Linked DNA regions of Homo sapiens: region 1 is linked to region 2. The links are contacts of gene promoters, found by promoter capture Hi-C in human tissues and cell types (Jung and others, 2019). All regions are on one chromosome and are shown on one strand. Each heading gives the region's core, a stretch centred on a gene start or on the middle of the fragment in contact. The rest is flanking DNA. Distances are from core to core; before and after follow the strand shown.

Region 1 (4,415 bases), core at 1,030-3,529, 60 kb before region 2:
CCATTTCTTGTTTTTATCAGGTTTGTCAAAGATCAGATGGTTGTAGATGTGTGGTATTATTTCTGAGGGCTCTATTCTGTTCCATTGGTCTATATCTCTGTTTGGTACCAGTACCATGCTGTTTTGGTTACTGTAGCCTTGTAGTATAGTTTGAAGTCAGGTAGCCTAATGCCTTGAGCTTTGTTCTTTTGGCTTAGGATTGTCTTGGCAATGTGGGCTCTTCTTTGGTTCCATATGAACTTTAAAGTAGTTTTTTCCAATTCTGTGAAGAAAGTCATCGGTAGCTTGATGGGGATGGCATGGAATCTACAAATTACCTTGGGCAGTATGGCCATTTTCATGATATTGATTCTTCCTATCCACGAGCATGGAATGTTCTTCCATTTGTTTGTGTCCTCTTTGATTTCGTTGAGCAGTGGTTTGTAGTTCTCTTTGAAGAGGTCCTTCACATCCCTTGTAAGTTGGATTCCTAGGTATTTTATTCTCTTTGAAGCAATTGTGAATGGGAGTTCACTCATGATTTGGCTCTCTGTTTGTCTGTTGTTGGTGTATAGGAATGCTTGTGATTTTTGCACATTGATTTTGTATCCTGAGACTTTGCTGAAGTTGCTTATCAGCTTAAGGAGATTTTGGGCTGAGATGATAGGGTTTTCTAAATATACAATCATGTCATCTGCAAACAGGGACAATTTGACTTCCTCTTTTCCTACTTGAATACCCTTTAGTTCTTTGTCCTTCCTGATTGCCCTGGCCAGAACTTCCAACACTATGTTGAATAGGAGTGGTGAGAGAGGGCATCCCTGTCTTGTGCCAGTTTTCAAAGGGAATGCTTCCAGTTTTTGCCCATTCAGTATATGATATTGACTGTAGGTTTGTCATAAATAGCTCTTATTATTTTGAGATACATCCCATCAATACCCAGTTTATTGAGAGTTTTTAGCATAAAGGGCTGTGGAATTTTGTCGAAGGCCTTTTCTGCATCTATTCAGATAATCTTGTGGTTTTTGTCTTTGGTTCTGTTTATATGATGGATTACGTTTATTGCTTTGCATATGTTGAATCAGCCTTGCATCCCAGGGATGAAGCCAACTTGATCGTGGTGGATAAGCTTTTTGATGTGCTGCTGGATTTGGTTTGCCAGTATTTTATTGAGGATTTTTGCATCGATGTTCATCAGGTATATTGGTCTAAAATTCTTTTTGTTGTGTCTCTGCCAGGCTTTGGTATCAGGATGTTGCTGGCCTCATAAAATGAGTTAGGGAGGATTCCCTCTTTTTCTATTGATTGGAATAGTTTAAGAAGGAATGGTACTAGCTCCTCTTTGTACCTCTGGTAGAATTCAGCTGTGAATCCATCTGGTCCTTGACTTTTTTTGGTTGGTAGTCTATTAATTATTGCCTCAATTTCAGAGCCTGTTATTGGTCTATTCAGGGATTCGACTTCTTCCTGGTTTAGTCTTGGGAGGGTGTATGTGTCCAGGAATTTATCCATTTCTTCTAGATTTTCTAGTTTATTTCCATAGAGGTATTTATAGTACTCTCTGATGGTAGTTTGTATTTCTGTGGGATCGGTGGTGATATCCCCTTTATCATTTTTTATTGCATCTATTTGATTCTTCTCTCTTTTCTTCTTTATTAGTCTTGCTGGCGGTCTATCAATTTTGTTGATCTTTTCAAAAAAACAGCTCCTGGATTCACTGATTTTTTGAAGGGTTTTTTCTGTCTCTGTCTCCTTCAGTTCTGCTCTGATCTTAGTTATTTCTTGCCTTCTGCTAGCTTTTGAATGTGTTTGCTCTTGCCTCTCTAGTTCTTTTAATTGTGATGTTAGGGTGTCAATTTTACATCTTTCCTGCTTTCTCCTGTGGGCATTTAGTGCTATAAATTTCCCTCTACAAACTGCTTTAAATGTGTCCCAGAGATTCTGGTATGTTGTGTCTTTGTTCTCATTGGTTTCAAAGAACATCTTTATTTCTGCCTTCATTTGTTATGTACCCAGTAGTCATTCAGGAGCAGGTTGTTCAGTTTCCATGTATTTGAGTGGTTTAGAGTGAGTTTCTTAATCCTGAGTTCTAGTTTGATTGCTCTGTGGTCCGAGAGACAGTTTGTTATAATTTCTATTCTTCTACATTTGCTGAGGAGTGCTTTACTTCCAACTATGTGGTCAATTTTGGAATAAGTGTGATGTGGTGCTGAGAAGAATGTATATTCTGTTGATTTGGGGTGGAGAGTTCTGTAGATGTCTATTAGGTCCTCTTGGTGCAGAGCTGAGTTCAATTCCTGTATATCCTTGTTAACTTTCTGTCTCATTGATCTGTCTAATGTTGACAGTGGGATGTTAAAGTCTCCCATTATTATTGTGTGGGAGTCTAAGTCTCTTTGTAGGTCTCTAAGGACTTGCTTTATGCATCTCAGTGCTCCTGTATTGGGTGCATAAATATTTAGGATAGTTAGCTCTTCTTGTTGAATTGATCCCTTTACCTTTATGTAATGGCCTTGTCTCTTTTGATCTTTGTTGGTTTAAAGTCTGTTTTATCAGAGACTAGGATTGCAACCCCTGCTTTTTTTGTTTGTTTTCCATTTGCTTGGTAGATCTTCCTCCATCCCTTTATTTTGAGCCTATGTATGTCTCTGCACGTGAGATGGGTCTCCTGAATACAGCACACTGATGGGTCTTGATTCTTTATCCAATTTGCCAGTCTGTGTCTTTTAATTGGAGCATTTAGCCCATTTACATTGAAGGTTAATATTGTTATGTGTGAATTTGATCCAGTCATTATGATGTTAACTGGTTATTTTGCTCGTTAGTTGATACAGTTTCTTCCTAGCCTCAATGGTCTTTACAATTTGGCATGTTTTTGCAGTGGCTGGTACCGGTTGTTCCTTTCCATGTTTAGTGCTTCCTTCAGGAGATCTTTTACAGCAGGCCTGGTGGTGACAAAATCTCTCAGCATTTGAATCTGTAAAGGATTTTATTTCTCCTTCACTTATGAAGCTTAGTATGGCTGGATATGAAATTCTGGGTTGAAAATTCTTTCCTTTAAGAATGTTGAATATTGGCCCCCACTCTTTTCTGGCTTGTAGAGTTTCTGCCAAGAGATCCGCTGTTAGTCTGACGGGCTTCCCTTTGTGGGTAACCCGACCTTTCTCTCTGGCTGCCCTTAACATTTTTTCCTTCATTTCAACTTTGGTGAATCTGACAATTATGTGTCTTGGAGTTGCTCCTCTCGAGGAGTATCTTTGTGGCGTTCTCTGTATTTCCTGAATTTGAATGTTGGTCTGCCTTGCTAGGTTGGGGAAGTTCTCCTGAATAATATCCTGAAGAGTGTTTCCCAACTTGGTTCCATCCCTGTCACTTTCAGGTACACCAATCAGACATAGATTTGGTCTTTTCACATAGTCCCATATTTCTTGGAGGCTTTTTCATTTCTTTTTACTCTTTTTTCTCTAAACTTCTCTTCTCACTTCATTTCATCCATTTGATCTTCAATTACTGATACCTTTTCTTCCACTTGATTGAATCAGCTACTGAAGCTTGTGCATGCATCACATAGTTCTCGTGCCATGGTTTTCAGCTCCATCGGGTCATTTAAGGTCTTCTCTACACTGTTTATTCTAGTTAGCCATTTTGTCTAATCTTTTTTCAAGGTTTTTAGCTTCTTTGTGATGGGTTCGAACATCCTCCTTTAGCTTGGAGAAGTTTGTTATTACCGATCATCTGAAGCCTTCTTCTCTCAGCTCGTCAAAGTCAAAGTCCAGCTTTGTTCCATTGCTGGCGAGGAGCTGCGTTCCTTTGGAGGAGAAGAGGCGCTCTGATGTTTAGAATTTTCAGCTTTTCTGCTCTGGTTTCTCCCCATCTTTGTGGTTTTATCTACTTTTGGTCTTTGATGATGGTGATGTACAGATGGGTTTTGGTGTGGTTGTCCTTTCTGTTTGTTAGTTTTCCTTCTAACAGTCAGGACCCTCAGCTGAGGTCTGTTGGATTTTGCTTGAGGTCCACTCCAGACCCTGTTTGCCTGGGTATCACCAGCAGGGGCTGCAGAACAGCAAATATTGCAGAACGGCAAATGTTGTTGCCTGATCCTTCCTCTGGAAGCTTCGTCACAGAGGGGCACACGGCCGTATGAGGTGTCAGTTGGCCCCTACTGGGAAGTGCCTCCCAGTTAGGCTACTTGGAGATCAGGGACCCACTTGAGGAGGCAGACTGTCCATTCTTAGATCTCAAACTCCATGCTGGGAGGACTGCTACTCTCTTCAAAGCTGTCAGACAGGGACATTTAAGTCTGCAGAAGTTTCTGCTGCCTTTTGTTCAGCTATCCAGAATGCATTCTTATGTGTGCTTGTGTCCTTTACTGAATTCGAAGGTTCTGGGCAGACCTGAAGGGTTTCCCACATTCTTTACATTCATGGTTTCTCTTG
Region 2 (4,477 bases), core at 5-2,504:
GGGAGGTGAGACAGGTCTCCTTATACCCTCTCCCTTTAGGAGTTTACATGCAGCAACTGACGCACATTCATGTAAAAACAGACATTCTCTGACTGGAAAAACAGACTCCTTGTGGCAACAAGATACCAAATTACAAACAAGACCTAAGGCCACGCAAGGCAAAGGTAAAGTTACGTCTTAGAATTCATAAAATCTAGAGAAACAGGACTGTTTTTTGGCTGGGATGGAATGAAGTGGCAGATAACAGACCCCCTTCCTTCAGCATTCCTTCCTACCTCCTCCAAACTTTAGACAAAGCTTCACACTCTCAACCAGCTGCCACCTACAGAATCCCTCAACCACCTGTGCCTCCTAACCCCCCTTCCACAGGTCCCACCCTTTCTGCCAATGGAATTTACACCTTCCAGCCTTGATCCATCATTTTCCCTGCAATTCCTGTCTCTCTGAAATGAATAAAACCAAACTGTCCTGAGCCGCCTCCGGACCACTTACTCCAGGCTGCTTGGGGTTGTGTTTCCCTCGGCCAAGGTCTCTCCTACTCGGCTCTGAATACACTTCTGTATTTTACATAGTCTGTTTTTTTTCCGTTGACAAACCACAAGCCAGGACCGGGTGTTTCTCATTCGTGAATGGCTGTTTCCTCAAATGAACTTTTTGTTAACGTACCTCAGTATAATTTTTAACAGGAGAAAGTGGAGGCTGTGGGCCCCACAGACCGCTGCTCCTCCTACGGACGAAATCCACACCCGAGTCGAAATCCGCGCATGACCCTCCCGTGGCCCCCGCACAAGCTGGGGCGTCGGGCTGCGGGCGCGGAGCTGCACAAAAGGGCTTCGGGGCCAAGGCCGCAGTCGACGGGCAGGGACGGGACAGGACGCCCGGAGTCCCGGCTGCCGGCCCACCCACATCCAGCGGCCGCGGGGACCGAGGGCCGAGCAGCTCTAGGAGGACTCGGTCCCAGACCCCGGAGTCGCCCACAGGGAGGCCCGGGTCCCGCCAGTTCCAGGCAGCCCCTCCCCCATCGCACCACTCCCGGCCAGCACACGCACCATTTCCCGGCTTTCAGATGTACCGGGGTCCTCTCTACAGCTCCTGTGAGTAAAGCAGGGCATAGCGCAGGTGACAGAGCGACAGAAATCTGGGTAGAGGCACTAGGTCCCTCTCGGGGCTGGAAAGGCCAGATCCCAACCGCCGCCCTCGCAGCGACAAAGGTGACGGCAGGAATGCAACATCCTCCGTGCCTGGATGCACAGTGGGCAGGGCCCCGAGCCAGTGCCTCTGATTGGATGGAATGTTCGGCCCCGCCCCCCACGTCTAAGTGACAGCGGAAGCCCTGGGTATCAGGCCCTGCGGAGCCAGACTGACAGATTCTAGCAACAGCTTCTCTAAGCTTACACGAGCTGCTTCCTGCACTCGGGTTATTGGATAGTTGCATTTCAGCCAAACTTGCTATTGTTAGAAGAGAACACTAGCGTCTTCCTCACTCAAAGGACTGTCCCCGCTCCTTCGTTCTGCACGGGGTCACAGGAGTGTGCAGGGAATTTCAGACTCAGTGTCCACAGGAGCCATCTCCTGCCTCAGAGCAGCAGGGGAACCGAGACCAGGCCAGGCAAGACTGCACCAGGAGGAGAGGCATATTTCCTCGAGCGGGCCGGAATTGGGGATGAGGCATGGCCAAGACTTGCTCACACACCCCCATCCCCTCCTCACAGTATGAAAATGCTCCGTCCTTCCAGATCTTCATTTTCACCTGCAGGAAACTCTCACCTGGGGTTAAGCTTCGGACCTAAATAAACTGTCAACCTCATAAACCTTTTATCCAGGTGACGCCACCAAACAATTGTGTCTCTAGCCTGATTTTCACACATTTTCTTTATATATACAAATAACTCTGACTCCAGCGACCCCATGTATGTCAAACCCCAAACCCTGCCCAGAAGACAGCCCCAGGCTCCAGAGGTACAACACCAGAAAGGACAGAACCCCACAAATGCGTCTGCACGAAGGTCTTCTGCTTTCCAGGGCCCTACAGCTTCTCGGAATCCACACTCCTTCTGGAGCTGCTCTGAGCAGCTGGAGGCCACCTGTAGGGGAGGGCGGGCTGCCCAGGAAGCCCCCAGGAAAAGCTCCTTTCCCTTCCTTTGCAGGCTCCAGACTGGCCTCAGCGTGGAGTCACTGGCCTCGGGCTCTGCTGCCCCTGCAGGTTATTCAGCTACTTCTCACCCCATTGATCAGTTCCATGACACAAACACCCTCAATCCCATTGTGTGAATAAGACACCAGCAGAGTCCCTGCTCTCCTCCTATGTTTATGTATAAAGTGGGGAAGGAAAATTCTAAGATAACTTAAGTACATTTAAAAGACTTCCAGATCGCGGTGGAGGTGGCAGCGGAGGGACCCACGGTCACTGACACTGCAGCACCTCCAGGCCTGTCTGGTCAGAGAAAGGGTGGAAAGCTGGAGATGGATGTGGATACGTGGAGGGAGCAGCCCTGGGAACTGGGCTCTGCAGCAGCGCGGCTCTAGGGCCTGGAGCCCGGGAGAGCACAGATGGGGGCTCCTGGGACAGGATGCTCAAAGAAGAGTCAGGTGGCTTCCATGAAATGGGGTGCTATGGCAGCTGGTGAGGGCCTGTGGCTATCATAATTTGGGACGTGAAAACTTGGATTCCGTGGGAATTTATGAAGAGGAAGGCTCTGATGACAAAGAAGTCATCGATGAGGAGGGGGATGAGGGTCACTGGCAAGCTCGCTTCCTTATGGAAAGAAAAGTGAACACCCAACTACTGCTGCAAAATGGGGTGAAAGGATGAGACTCTCACTGTCAGGGAATAAACTGCTGCAGAACTCTTAGAGATTGCAAAGACCTTTCAACAACAGCCTGGGAGGCCGGGTGCCATGGCTTACACCTGCAATCCCAACATTTTAGGAGGCCAAAGTGGGAGGATCACTTGAAGCCCGAAGTTGAAGACCACCCTGAGCAGTGAAGTGAGACACTCCCATCTCCATAATTTTTTTTTTATTAGCCTGGAGAGGTGGTGTGTACCCTTAGTCTCAGCTACTCAGGAGCCTGAGGCAGGAGGATTACTCGAGCCCCAAAGTTTGAGGCTGCTGTGAGCTTTGATCAGGCTACTGTACTTCAGCAAGACACGGTCTCAAAAAAAAAAAAATCCCACCAAATTCCCTGGGGAAACCCTGACCCCCTTGGATGGTCTAATTGTAAAACACAGAGGGTGGTGACGTTTCCTTATGGACTGGATCATTCTAGCCATGTAAGAGGCTTGGACTACTGAGGATTTACCAGGCGGATGACCTCCTTGCTGTCAATGTAAAAGGCCCCTGGTGAAACCATCCCTTTAAACTTTATCAAATTCATCAGGGAGGAAGGGAGGAGGAAAACTTAAACCAAGCTGGCAGCACCTTCAGCATTAATCATTAAGTCAGCTTGTTCTCTGACCTTCCTCATATTTGTTTCATACCTAGTGTCCTAGAATCCCACAGACCCTAAATGATAGTTCCCGTTAACTGCTCTATAGACATCAACTTGAACATTAGATGTTCTCCCTTTGAATTTCCATTCGAAATATTTCCTTTTCAGGGCTGGGTGCATTGGTTCATGACTGTAATCTCAGCACTTTGGGAGGCTGAGGTTGGGGAATCACTTGAGCCTGGGCGTTCAAGAACAGCCTGGAAAATACAGTGAGACTCCATCTGTACAAAAAAATTTATAAACAATTGGGCATGGTGGCATGTGCCTTTATTCCCTGCTACTTGGGAGGCTGAGGCAGGAGGATCCCTTGATCCCAGGAGTTTCTGCAGTGAGCTATATGATCCCACCACTGCACTCCAGCCTGGGAAACAGAACCACACTATGTCTCTTAAAAAACAAAAAAGAAAAAAGAAATCCAGACATTTGTTGGTCTTTGGATTATTGGAGAGCATTTATCTGACACTTAGCCCAAAGTTTGATACCAATATATAGAATTATTAGAAAGGGGCACTTTGAGACTGGGACACAGCTCTGCAGGAAGCTTTCGACAGGTTAATGTGTTAGTATGCTGCCATACTAACTTCAGCAAGACCTGGTCTCAAAAAAAAAAAAAAATCCCACAAAACTCTCTGGGAAAACCCTGACAACCCTTGGATGGTCCAATTATAAAACACAGCAGGTAGTGATATTTCCCTATGGACTGGATCACAAGCCTCAGGCACACCTTTAGAGGGTAGAGCTGTGAGTTGGGATGATACAGCTGCTGCTGCAGGTACAAATTGGGCCTTATGGCAAACACAGTGTGGTAAATCAGTTCCTTTAGGATTTTGGTTGTAATTATGTCATAGAGATGAAACCAGACACTCTTGAAGTGAACAAGTGCTGGCAGTATATGATGCTCTCAAGTAGGTAGAATCCTTAAAAAAGAACCTTTCTATGACTGTGAGAATGGGATTACCATGCTCGGCTAATTTTTTGTATTTTTAGT

The links. The method cuts DNA at HindIII sites, captures the fragments that hold promoters and counts their contacts. A contact is called where the count stands out against the background at its distance.
Region 1: a contact is called between a fragment that was not itself captured here and the fragment with the promoter of ZNF439 in region 2, in 3 of the 25 tissues and cell types used here (bladder, mesenchymal stem cells and pancreas).

What each region holds. Positions count from the first base shown.
Region 1 is chr19:11,906,153-11,910,567 of GRCh38, reverse strand. ZNF69 (zinc finger protein 69) reads right to left here. Exons shown (of 4, transcript NM_001364730.1): 4 at 3,872-4,415. Among named protein-coding and RNA genes, the nearest start is that of ZNF700, 17 kb to the left of the region's middle. The HindIII fragment of the contact is 5,350 bases long and covers 1-4,415 here.
Region 2 is chr19:11,845,503-11,849,979 of GRCh38, reverse strand. ZNF439 (zinc finger protein 439) reads right to left here and starts at 1,254. Exons shown (of 4, transcript NM_001348719.2): 1 at 1,050-1,254. The coding sequence starts at 1,112. The HindIII fragment of the contact is 2,018 bases long and covers 1-1,584 here.